Regions from separate parts of the Homo sapiens genome. Here all the other regions are linked to region 1. Evidence: promoter capture Hi-C in human tissues and cell types (Jung and others, 2019). All regions are on one chromosome and are shown on one strand. The core of a region is centred on a gene start or on the middle of the fragment in contact, and the rest is flanking DNA. Distances in the headings are between cores, read along the strand shown. Region 1 holds the start of RORB (RAR related orphan receptor B). Region 2 has its middle 56 kb from the start of RORB. Region 3 overlaps RORB (RAR related orphan receptor B). Region 4 has its middle 39 kb from the start of RORB.

Evidence for each region. The method cuts DNA at HindIII sites, captures the fragments that hold promoters and counts their contacts. A contact is called where the count stands out against the background at its distance.
Region 2: a fragment that was not itself captured here is called in contact with the fragment with the promoter of RORB in region 1 in 3 of the 25 tissues and cell types used here (adrenal gland, aorta and mesenchymal stem cells).
Region 3: a fragment that was not itself captured here is called in contact with the fragment with the promoter of RORB in region 1 in 1 of the 25 tissues and cell types used here (dorsolateral prefrontal cortex).
Region 4: a fragment that was not itself captured here is called in contact with the fragment with the promoter of RORB in region 1 in 5 of the 25 tissues and cell types used here (aorta, dorsolateral prefrontal cortex, lymphoblastoid cells and 2 more).

What each region holds. Positions count from the first base shown.
Region 1 is chr9:74,495,684-74,498,839 of GRCh38, reverse strand. It overlaps RORB (RAR related orphan receptor B), which reads right to left and starts at 1,505. Exons shown (of 10, transcript NM_006914.4): 1 at 857-1,505. The coding sequence starts at 863. RORB-AS1 (RORB antisense RNA 1) reads left to right here and starts at 287. Exons shown (of 5, transcript NR_125791.1): 1 at 287-598. RefSeq lists silencers at 1,273-1,567, 1,472-1,661, 1,657-1,869. The HindIII fragment of the contact is 7,823 bases long and covers 1-3,156 here.
Region 2 is chr9:74,440,218-74,443,373 of GRCh38, reverse strand. No RefSeq gene overlaps it. Among named protein-coding and RNA genes, the nearest start is that of RORB, 56 kb to the left of the region's middle. The HindIII fragment of the contact is 3,059 bases long and covers 162-3,156 here.
Region 3 is chr9:74,547,073-74,550,228 of GRCh38, reverse strand. The region is part of intron 1 of RORB (RAR related orphan receptor B); the gene reads right to left. Among named protein-coding and RNA genes, the nearest start is that of RORB-AS1, 50 kb to the right of the region's middle. The HindIII fragment of the contact is 5,181 bases long and covers 1-3,156 here.
Region 4 is chr9:74,457,085-74,460,240 of GRCh38, reverse strand. No RefSeq gene overlaps it. Among named protein-coding and RNA genes, the nearest start is that of RORB, 39 kb to the left of the region's middle. The HindIII fragment of the contact is 4,336 bases long and covers 1-3,156 here.

The DNA.
Region 1 (3,156 bases), core at 256-2,755:
CGCCGCCGCCGCCGCCACCGCCTGCGACTGCGAGGGTCCTGGCCCGAGGGTGCACCAGCACCTCCTTCCACTACCGGCCCTTTATCTGACAAAAGAGCCGGAGCCCATGACTCTCCGACTGTGAGCAGTGTGGCCTTTCCAAGCCTCCAGAACTTTCTCATTACAACTTTTCCGGGGTCGCACTACTCCCTGGGCCGCGCGGGCTCGGGCACGAGGACCTGGCCAGGGCGCAGCGCCGGCACGAAGGCGCGCGCCGCAGAACTGTTTCCTCAGCCGCGTGCCGGGGAACTAACTGTTTCCTCAGCCGCGTCCAGCCTCGCAGCACTGCTCTTCTGCTTGCTACTCCAGCGAAGGGACATGCCTGCTGGCCAGGACGCTTAGTGGGCCTCGTAACCTGGCGAGTGTGTGCCCGCGCGTGTCCACCCTGCCCCCGGCCGGTGCGCCCCGCGCGCCCAAACCCGGCCGGCGACCACTGCGCGCCGGGCGCTTCCAAACTGCTCCTGTCCAGAGGCATCCCTCTTTCGGCTTTCTCCATCCCGCGTCCGCTTCCGCACCCGAGAGCGACAAGCAAAAAAGATTCAGTGCAACTCAAGGACTGGTAAGAACCAACTAGCCTGTCTCCCCTCTCCAAAAAAGCGCCCTCCCGCGTCCCTCCAGAACTCCCGAAAGACATCAACACCTTCCCGCAACTTTCTACGCCCAGGCCATTTGCAGCCCCACCTGCGAGAGCGAATTCGGGGAACTGCGCCTGGGCAACCTCTTTCCCTTTCTGCTGGGTGCCCTCCCCTCCCCCATCTCCCCGTCTGGCTGGAGTTGGCCGGACTCGGGGAGCCTCGGTGCCCGCAGACTCGCTTACCTCGCATGGTGTGGCCGCTCTCCCGCTCCGCGTAGTCATGAAGCTGCTCCCAGCCCGAACCCCGGAGAGCCCAAAAATCCCGCTCAGCACGAGTGAAGAAGGTGGTCGGCGAAGAGCTGCTCTGCCGAGAAAACCATCCCTTTAGGCGGACGCCGTGGCTGCAGGGTGACGTTTGCCGCCGCCGCCGCTATGTTAACAGTTTTGATGTTGGTGGTGACTGTTTTGATGATTGTTTGTTTGTTTGTTTGTTTTCAGGAAGGGTGAAAAAAAAATGTTCTGGCTGTCTGGTGCCTGGGTTTTGTTTTGGTTTTGTTTTTCTTTTTCTTTCTCTCCAATGTGCTTGCTTTTTAAAAAATGCCACCGCCTCCGGCTCAGAAGATTTCTTTTGTGATCACTTGGACTGAGGAGGAGGAGGAAGGGCAGCAGCAGGAGGAGGAGTTGGTGGTGGTTTTGTTAGTTACAAAGAAGAGGGAGAAGGAACAAGGGGGAAAAAAGGAAACAGAAAGAAAAGAAAGAAAGGCGGTGTGGATGGCAGAGCATGTGCGTTTTCACATGACATCTGTGCCTGTTAGCGGATCCACAATGTGAATTTTCACTGTTCAGTTACAGGGAGGAAGGGAGCAGCGAGAGAGAAAGAGAGGGGAGAGATGGAGAGAGAGCGCTGAGAGGGGCTTATACGCGAGGGCGGGCTTGGCCGCGACTTCCAGGCCCCGCCTGCTGTCAGCGCAGCCGCCAATCAGAGCCCAGCAGCGCCTGGAGAGGCTGGGACCGCGGGGAGGGGACGTGGTGGAGGCGGGGGGTGGGGCGGGGGCTGGGGACCAGGGAGTCCGAGGTGGCCGGGGCTGCGACGGGGAATTCGAGACTGTCCGAACTGGGCAGAGAAGAAGGGCCGACCGGGAGAGTCGGGCAGATCCGCAGGTGACAGGCACTTCCGACTCCAGCAGAGAAGGGGACACTGATCACGGAAAACCTTCGGAGGCAAGAGACGCGGGGCTCCCCGGGTTTCACGTTCGGTCCCTGTCTCGCAACCCCCGCGGGCCCGGCAGAGTTAGTTTTGAATTTATGGCAGCGCTTTGCCGAGCGCTATTTGGGTAAACTTCGGTCTCCGGCGGGGGTTTCCGTGGGCAGGTGGTTTGGGTGTTGGTGGTAGAATAATGCAAACCCACTTTCATCACTTTTAGCACAACTAAAATGCAGTCCCATGGAAGTAGCTGTCCCCTTCCTTTAAAAACGTCCGTCAGATGCTCCCTGACCCTCTTCTAAAAAAAAAAAAAAAAGAAAGAAAGAAAGAAAAAAACGTGTATATGTTCTTTTGTCTGGGAAATTGATTTTTATTAGCATTTGGAGACTCCCCTGGCGATGGACTACAGGACTGAAGGAGAACAGCTCAAATTGGCGGTGTAGCCACCTTACTAATTCAAGAGAAATGGCTGTTGCTAGAAGGTGTGATTGCAGGGTGCTCTTTAGAAAGGTTTTAGAAGGAAGACATTGTTAACTTTAGTTAGAGGCGATTGGTAACTGAACATAGATAAACTTACTTGTATTCCTTAGGTGAAAATTGTCATCTATGACCATTTATTTGTATTTTGATAAAAATCTAATACATATATCCAAACTGTTCCTTTGCAAGTTTTTCCAACTCAGTTGACAAAATAAGCATATAGATGATTACATCTACTTCCTTCCCAATAGTAGGGAACTTCTTAAATACTTGAGTTAATTGAACACCCTAAAAGATTGGGAGGTGAAAATATTTGCCTCATTCACTCAGTCTTGAGGCTGGGAGATGTCTACTCATTAGCATACCTGTTGGCACAGCAGGCCTCATCATCATTTAAGTATCCAAATAATTTGATTTTTGACTGGTATTTATTCATGATATGTCATGTAACACAAAGTACAATGTAGAATTGGCAGTTATTTAGTTAATTAGGTCGCTCTACACTGCCAAGTAGTTTTTTCCTTCCTGATTAAATGAAAAATGAATTATCTGCTGAATTTTCACCAGTATTAAATTGACGTAGCCCTGCTATATGCCATCCCATTTGCAAACCAATGTGTAATTTAGGAAAATTTTAGTATTAAGAGTGAAAGTTGATTGAGTCATTAATTAAATGAAATGAACAAAAGGAAGTTACTGTTTAGAATAGTTATTCCTTTATAAATATCTTTCTCCTAGATTTGTAATTGACACAGTAGTTAATCTTTTAAGATAATATTTAAGGCTCCCTGGTTTTATCATTTTTAATCAAGTAAAATATATTCATCATAACTATGTTAAAGCTGTACAAAGTTATGCC
Region 2 (3,156 bases), core at 442-2,941, 56 kb after region 1:
ATTCCCTTCCTACTAACCATCCACAACATTAAAGCAAAAATATAACAAAGCTTTTAAAACAAAAAAAAATCTATTTGCCATTGACATACCTGAGATCTACAGCATGCAGGTCTTCTTCCAATTACTGGACAAAATATGTATGTTTCAAGTGTGTGTCAGTGACTTCAAGTTTGAATCACCTGCTGTCAGAGTTTCTACTTAGTCAATTGGCCATTCAGATGAATAATTTAAAGAACCTGCAAACAACTCCATATTTTAAAGACTATTTAAGCTTATTTCTGTATTAATAATATAATCTAAAACTTAGATATACCACCTGTGATACTTGCTGTTTTCCTCCCCCACCTCGACGGAATTGCTTCAAAAAGATAACTAGTTAGAATACATATCATTACTATTTCTAATAGTAATATTATCATTATTTGGTTGTAAATATTTCAATAATCAAGAAACTTTCAATTAGGACTATTTTATTCATTTTTACATTCAAAATGACTAAAATTTTACATGCTCTATAATTATGTTTTATAAAATATAATAATCTTTATTGTTAATATATGAAATATAGATTTTTATGTACCAGTTTCCTTAAATCCCTGTTGAAAAATTCATGTATCTTCAATGACACATATTTCAAAAGCAGAGAACACCAGAAAAAGAAACGTAACAAAATCCTTTGCACCTAGAACTAGCAAATGCCAACTTTTGCCATATTATCTTTAAATTTTGCTCAACTTATCCCCAATGCAAACTGCTTTCTCCATCAAGTAACCACTGTCATGAAGTCGGCATGTGTCCTTCTTGACTGTGCTTTATATTTTGCTGTGTATTTGTGTGCTCATAATACTATACTACACTATTTTGTTTTTAAACAATGTAATTGATATTAGACAATATGCATAATTCTGCAACTTGCTTTATTGACTCAACACTGTTTTCAAGGAAAATCATAGCTGTTTTAGGAATGTATTCTGCTTGTTAAAATTAGAATTATACACATTTCAACTTCAACTAGACATTATCAAGATGCCTTCCGATGTAGGGGTTCCAAAATACACCTCTACTCACAGGCATGGAGAGCTCCCACTTTCCTACATCCTTGCCAATATTTCTTTCATCTGGCAAAAAGTTATATAATGCTTAAAAATGGGCACGTTCTGTTCTCAGAATTTTGAAAACACAAACTCATTTAATTCTCTTTACAATTCTGTGACAAAGTTGCTTTAATGTTCTCATTTTACTGATGAGAAACTGACATAGACAGATTAAATAACTTGCCATAGTGATATAACTAATAAAGGGCAGAGTTACTTTTGAAATCAGACAATACTTGTCATTTACATATTTTTATTTTTATTTCTTTTGCCTATCTTTTAGGTGATATAATTCATCTATCCAATTATTAGTGTGGTTGAACATCTTTTCAGTTACTGGAAGTTCAAATTGTCCCTTTCCTATAAATTATTTCTTGATATCATATGCCCATTTTTCTATCGAGTTATTTGCTTTTCTCTTGCTTATTTGTATGAGTTCTTTACATATACTTGCTACTAATTATCCCTTGTTGATCATATGTAATGAAAGTACCTTTGCTCAGTTTGTAGCTAGTCTTTTCGTTTTCCATAGACATTTTTTTGAAGATGCAGAGACAATGAGACAATGCTATTAATATTTTTTCATGTACTCTTTTGTGCTCTCTATAAGACAATCCTTTCCTAACTTGACCTCAAATAGATATTCTATATATTCTTCTAAAGCTTTAAGTTTTTAATTTGTTTTCAATATTTATAAAAAGAAATTTCATGTTGAGAGGTAACGTAACTTTATTTTCCATTTTGAAAATAAACTGTTACAATGAGTCTTATTAAAAACTCATTTGTCAGCCTTGGGCTTGTAATATCACCTCTGTCAAATGCCCAATTTTCATATAAGGATGCGTGTGTCAATTCTGCTTCACTGCCTTCTGTATCTATTTCTGCAGCAATACTACCATGTTTAAAAACCAAAGCCTTATAATGGTTTGAATATCTGGAAGGGTGGGTCTTTTGTCCTTGCCATTCCCTTTTCATTCAGATACTTTTCTTCTTAATTTTCTTTTGATCTAATATGCAGAGAGTACATTTGGAGTATATTTTTTAGAAAAGCATAGTCTAGGTTTTGTTTTGCTTTGGTTTTCTGTATCTTTATTGATGATTTATATTTATAGGATTGCCAGATTTAGAAAATAAAAATACAGGATGCCCAGTGAAATTTGAATTTCAGATAAACAACAAATAATTTTTAAATTTAAGCATGTATCAAATATTGTAGGGAACATGCTTTTACTAAAAATTTATTTATTTATCTGGAATTCATATTTAATTAGATGTCCTGTATTTTATCTGAAAATTCTATTTCAATTGTCTTGAAATGGAAATTAAGAAAACATGTCATTTGACAGCAAAGACATGAAATCAATAAAGAAAATGTGGTACGTATACTCCATGGAATATTATGCAGCTATAAAAAGAGTGAAATCATGTTCTTTATAGCAACATGGATGCAGCTTGAGGCTAGTATCCTAAGTAAGTTAATGCAAGAACAGAAAACCAAATACCACATGTTCTCACTTATAAGTGGGAACTAAACAATGGGTATTCATGGACATTGAGATTACAGCAGTAGACACTGGGGACTTACAGGGGAAGTGGAAAAGGTTGAAACTATTGGGTACAATGCCCAGTACCTGGTTGATGGGATCAGTTATATCCCAAACCTCAGCATCAAACAATATACCCAGGCAACAAACCTGCACATGCACCCCCTGAATCTAAAATAAAAGTTGAAATTATTAAAAAATAAATAAATAAAAAGGAAAGAAAGAAGAAAGAAAATGTGACCTGTATAATATTTATTCTTTGAACTTTGTTAAGACTTTCTTCATGTTTGTGTTTTGTAATTGTTCATATGTGTGTTTTTTTTCTTTTTTAATAGAGGCTGGGTCTTGAAATGTTGGCCATGTTGGTCTTGAACTCAGCCTCAAGCAATCTTCCCTCCCGGCTTCCCAAAGTGCTGGGATTACAGGCGTGAGCCACCACACCAGGCCTGTTCATATGTGTTTAAAAGGATATATTTTTTGCTTGTAGGCTGCAATGTGGATATACACTTATTAAATGA
Region 3 (3,156 bases), core at 288-2,787, 51 kb before region 1:
TTTTTCTTCTTTAAGTGAAAAAATGCCAGAGATTAAAAACATATTCCACTTTAAAAATATCAAATTATTTAACAGTGGTACAACATAAAATATTTTACAATACTTAAGAAAATATTGATAAGAACATTTTGAATTCACGTTTCTAAATTGATGCAATTGCTTAGTGTGGCCAGAAGAAAGGGAATTAGAAATACACATAATCGGCCGGGCGCAGGGGCTCATGCCTGTAATCCTACTTTGGGAGGCTGAGGCAGGCAGATCACCTGAGGTCAGGAGTTCGCGACCAGCCTGGCCAACATGGTGAAACCCCGTCTCTACTAAAAATGCAAAAGATTAGCCGGGCGTAGTGGCACACACCTGTAATCCCAACTACTCGGGAGGCTAAGACAGGAGAATCGCTTGAACCCGGGAGGCGGAGGGTCGCAGTGAGCCCAGATCGCGCCACTGCACTCCAGCCTGGGTGACAGAGCAAAATTCCGTCTCAAACACACACACATAATCCTACAAGCAGTCAAAAAATACAGTTAATCCTACAAGCAGTCAAAAAATACAGATAATCCTACAAGCAGTCTCTTCTCTCTTTCTTTCTTTCTTTCCTTTCTTCCTTCCTTCCTTCCTTTCTTCCTTCCTTCCTTCCTTCCTTCCTTCCTTCCTTCCTTCCTTCCTTCCTTCCTTCCTTCCCTCCCTCCCTCCCTCCCTCCCTCCCTCCCTTCTTTCCCTTTCTTTCTTTCTCTCTCTCTCTCCCTCCCTACCTCTCTCTCTCTCTCTTTCTTCTTTTTTTTTTTTTGACGGAATTTTGCTCTGTTGCCCAGGCTGGAGTGCGGTGATGCGACCTCGGCTCACTGCAACCTCCGCCTCCTGGGTTCAAGCGATTCCCCTGCCTCAGCCTCCTGAGTAGCTGGGATTACAGGCGCCTGCTCCCATGCCCAGCTAATTTTTGTATTTTTAGTAGAGACGGTTTCACCGTGTTAGCCAGGCTGGTCTCAAACTCCTGACCTCAGGTGATCCGCCCGCCTCAGCCTCCCAAAGTGTTGGGATTACAGGCGTGAGCCACTGCAGCCGGCTGACAAGCAGTCTTAAACAATGTGGCTGAGAATATAAACAGGTACAACTTTCACAGAAAGCAACTGAGCAGTACGCATATTTCAAAAGTTTTTAAACACAGATACCATTTGATGCAATATCGCATTTTCATGTGGTCAAAGATTTAAATAAAGGATTGAAAATTTAAATAAAAGATTGAAATAGCATTATTTTTAATATATTTTATTTAAAAGAACATAAATATCCAATAATGATGCAATTATTAAACACATAAGAGGTATTATCCATATTACGGATCACCATGAAAGTTCATGAAAAATAACTGAAACCATAAAAAAATCCTTAGAATATTTTCAATGAAAAGAGTAGAATACTAAATTTGTTTACGGTATTATGTATAGAAAATAAGGCTGGAAGAGAATTCACTGACATATTTTAACATGTTTATTTTTTCTTTATGTTTCTGCATTTTCCACATTCTCTGCAATGACCAGTTATTACTTTCGAAGTTCACACTGCTCTCAGGGTAGCTGCACCGAGCCACTCTAGGGAGCAAGAAGCCACAACATAAACAAAGTTGTGCAGTGTGCTGTTTGTGCAGCAAACCTAGATTATGCTGTAAATCCACTTATTCTGAAAAAGTAAATTGCAAAATAAGAAACACTAAAAAGAATTAATCTGGACAAGAAGTAGTGAATTCCATGGGATAAAGAAAATATTTTCTAACCAGAAAGCTCATTTCCAGTGTAGGGTTTGTCCCTGCATTATTTTGAAATTATAGTTTTCTCATACTTCTCAACCAGCAGAAACTGCTGCTTCAGAGAAGCTGAAGTTGTGAAGATCTTTCCAAATATAAAAAAATACCTAATTTATAATCTCAATAAAGCCAATGCCACTCAATGAAAAAAAGATAATTTCTAGGATAAGAGAAGGTGATCATAAGAGAAGCTACAATACTAACAGCTAACTCACACTCATTAGCTCCTGATCTGCCCCGCCCTCACCCTCTCCCCACACGGTCATGCCGTTATGGGTAACGTTATGACCTGGCTGCTCTTGCTAAAAAACATGGGGAGTCATTTTTTGAGTGCTTTCTCACACTCCATATTTAATCCATCAGCAACCTATTTGTTCTTTCTTTAAAAACTATATTGAAAACTCAACATTAAAAACAATTTAAACCATTTTCAGAGCTACATTTCTGGTCTAAGTCACTCTAATTTCTAGCCTGGATTATTACAGTAGCCTGGTAGTTGGTCTTCCTGGTTTCTTACTTGCCTCCTTTCAGCCTATTTTCTGCAGCCAGGATTTTTAAAAAACATGTCAGATAATATCACTCTCCATTCTACCCTTGAATGAATTCCTATTTTACTTAACATAAAAATAAATTCTTTACAATGTTGTACAACATCTTATGTAATCATGGGTCATAGGAGTCACTGTCTCTCCTCCCCTTATTAATTCTGTGACCTCATCTTCTCACACACTGCTGTTCTTTTAACATATTGGGTGGTCTCCTACCTCAGGGCCTTTGCACAGGCTATTCCTCTTGCTTGGGGTGCTGTTAAGCAGATATCCACATCCCTTACTCCCTTACCAACTTCAGATCTGGGTACAAATATCATCATTTTAGTGAGGCCTCCCTGACAACTCTATTTAAAATTGCAAGCCTCTTGGGTTTACTATTAGAATTTCCCAAATTGGCTGTGATAAACCTCCAATTTTGGTTCCCCAATCCTAACTCTATCTCCTTCAATATTGGTAGAAGGTCTTCGGTCCTTGCTTAACTGACAGATTTTTAATCATCACCTATTTTCCCTCTTCTCTAGCTCTAAATCTTAGTAGGCTTTACCCATCCTTCTTCCTTTCATCCTTCTTCCCTCCAAGTTCAAACCACCACCTTATTTAAAGCCAGGTTCCTGACACCTCAGATCCCATCTCTTCCATTCTTGCTCTGTGCCATGCTTCATCAATGATCTCTCTCATACATATTTTCTTATAGTTTTAATTCTCTCCAGCAACCTACACACATACTTGGGTCTCTCCTCTGATAACAAAAAAAACCAAAACAATCCAACAATTTATTTTTTTGAGATGGAGTCTCTCTCTGTC
Region 4 (3,156 bases), core at 202-2,701, 39 kb after region 1:
CTCTGAATCCTTTTTTGTTTTTCTGGTTGATGGAACAGGGTTATCCATCTAGATAGCTAAAGTTTTTACTAATATATCTGAAAAAGAGTTTTAAGATTTTTCATTTGAATTTTATGAGGATTCTTACAAAGAGGCAGTGTTTTGATTTGTTTAGTCTTTTAGAAGTTCTTGCATGACAGTCAAAAATACATTCCATTCTATTAGAGGTGTCCTGCATCCTTTCTTTTTTAATTTATTTTATTTTTTTATTTTTTATTTATTATTATTTTTTGAGATGGAGTCTCGCTCTGTTGCCCAGGCTGGAGTGCAGTGGCATGATCTTGGCTCACTGCAAGCTCCGCCTCCCGGGTTCACGTCATTCTCCTGCCTCAGCCTCCCAAGTAGCTGGGACTGCAGGTGCCCACCACCACGCTGGGCTAATTTTTTGTATTTTTACTAGAGACGGGGTTTCACTGTGTTAGCCAGGGTGGTCTCGATCTCCTGACCTCGTGATCCACCCGCCTCGGCCTCCCAAAGTGCTGGGATTACAGGCGTGAGCCACCGGGCCCTGCTGCATCCTTTCTTTTTTAAAGCGCCTCTCAAGTTAAAGCTTCCTCATTGTGGCCACCGTAATTCTAAGTCTTCCATAGTAAGGCTAACCATTTCCCCCAAAATACATGGTTTCTGAAATCATCTTTATTGTACATAAAAGTTGTCAGTGTCCCAGAAAAAAGAGTCCCAGACTTCTGAAGCACCAGACTCTTCAGATTTGGAGAAACCTACTTTCAAGGAGGAGGAACCTAGTTATTTATTAGATTGAATCCAATTGCAAATTCTGTTCTGTAAAAGAATTGTTCAAATAAAGTCTGGAGCTCAAAATGCAGATTTGCAGACCTTTGATCTGAGAGGAAACTCATCCTTGACTTCCAATTTAGGCAAGAAAGCAATGCGCCCAGTGGTTTCAGTGGGTAGCTTTGCTCAGTCACTTCGTGCTGTAATGCCAAACTGTTAAAAGAAAAACTTTAGAGAAATTAAATTTAATAGCGTTTATTTGGGCAAAGAATGATTCATGATTGGGCAGCACTCAGAACCAGAAGAGGATCAGAGTTCTGCCCAGCAGCATGAGCAGTAAGCTTTTATAGGCTGAGCAGGGAAGCAAAGTAGAGAAATCACCTGATGGACTAGCTAAGCATTTGCTTCTTAGGCACGCTGTGATGAGGCATTTGTCTTATTTAGGCACAGTCTGATTAGTTGGCTGCCTGTGATTGACTGAGGCTCAGCTGTTTGTGATTGGCTGAAACCTGGCTATTTCTTACAAAAAAATGCTACTAAATTACGTTGTGCTTTTTAGTGTAGGAACTCAAATTAAAGAGACAGCGTCAGGCTGATGGCCTCCTGCTTGTTTTATTTAACATTGGCATATATTTAGGAGTGTTATTGCTAGTCATGGTATGTTAAGTTTAACCTTTACATATATTGCCAAACAATTTTTCTGAGTGACTGTATCAATTTAATCACTATCATCCTTTTATGATAGTTCCCAGTGCTGCTCCTCAATAGCATGTGGCATTGTCAGTCTTCTTAACTTTAGTTCTTTGGTGGCTGTGTACTTCATCTTTTTGTGGCTTTAATTTGCATTTCCCTATAACTAATAAAGTTAAGCACCCTTACAAATGTTTACAGACCATTTTTATATAATAAGAGGGTTTTTTTTCTTTCTTTTTGTAAAGTGCTTCTTCATGTCTTTCTTTCCTCCCTTTTGGCTGTTTGTCTATTACTGAATGATTTGTAGTTCTTTATATATTGTGGATACAAACGTTTTCTTGGGTATGTGTGCTGCAAATATCTTCTCTTATTGCCTATTTACTTTTTTGTTACTTTTGATAACCAGAAGTTCATTGTCTTAATAGGGTCCGATTTAACATGTTTTTCTTTAAATATAGGGATTATTGTGTCATTTTAAAAGAACCTTTGCTCATATCAAGATCATGAAGCTATTATCTTCTAGATGCTTTATTGTTTATCTTTTACTTTTAATTCTACTATTCACTTGAAATTGATTTTTGCATATAGTCAGAAGTTGGGGTCAAGTTTCTTTTTTTCCCCATACGTCTATCTCACTGACTCAGCACCATTTATTGAAAAGACTGTACTTTTCAGCCAGGCGCGGTGGCTCACGCCTGTAACCCCAGCACTTTGGGAGGCTGAGGGGGGCAGATCAAGAGGTCAGGAGTTCAAGACCAGCCTGGCCAACATGGTGAAACCCTGCCTGTACTAAAAATACAAAAATTAGCTGAGCATGGTGGCACGCTTCTGTAATCCCAGCTACTTGGGAGGCTGAGGCAAGAGAATTGCTTGAACCCACGAGGCAGAGGTTGCAGGGAGCCGACACTGCGCTACTGCACTCCAGCCTGCGTGACAAAACAAGACTCCATCCCCCGCCCCCCGCCCCCACAAAAAGAGAGAAAAGACTGTACTTTTCTGTCACTCTTCAGTACCACTTTTATCATAATTCAAGAGTTCATGTATGTGTGGATCTGTTTCTGGACTATATTTTCTATTTCATTATTAATTTAGCTACCCTTGGACAAATTCCACATGGTCTCTATTACTGTATCTTCAAAAGTAAGTCAAAGTCTGGTACAAAAATACTTACTCTTTTTTTCTTCTTTTCCAATTTTGACTTACCTGGTTTTAGCTTCTTATATTTACAAAGAAATCTTAGGATTCATTTGTCAATTTCCACATACATGCACAAACCCTCCTGAGATTTTGATTGTGATTGAATTGAATTTATAGTCCAATTTGGTGAGAACTGACATATTTACAATATTATTTTCTAATCATGAACATGATGTATTTCCCTGTTCAATTTGTGTTTAGATTTTCTTAATGGTACTTTATGGTTTGCGAGAAGTATCCACATTTGTTAGATTTATTCTCTGATATTTAATATTTTTGATGCTACTGTAACTGGTTTAATTACAACATATTATTTCACATTCTTTGGTTGTTATATTGGAATACAATTGATTTTTGATAATGGCCTTTTATCCTGGAAACTTGCTAAACTCATGCATTAATTCTAATAGGTTTTCTGTAGATTCCTTTAGATATTCCACTTAAACCATCATATTATTTGAAAATATTGCAAATCTTCATTCCCAATCTCTTTAC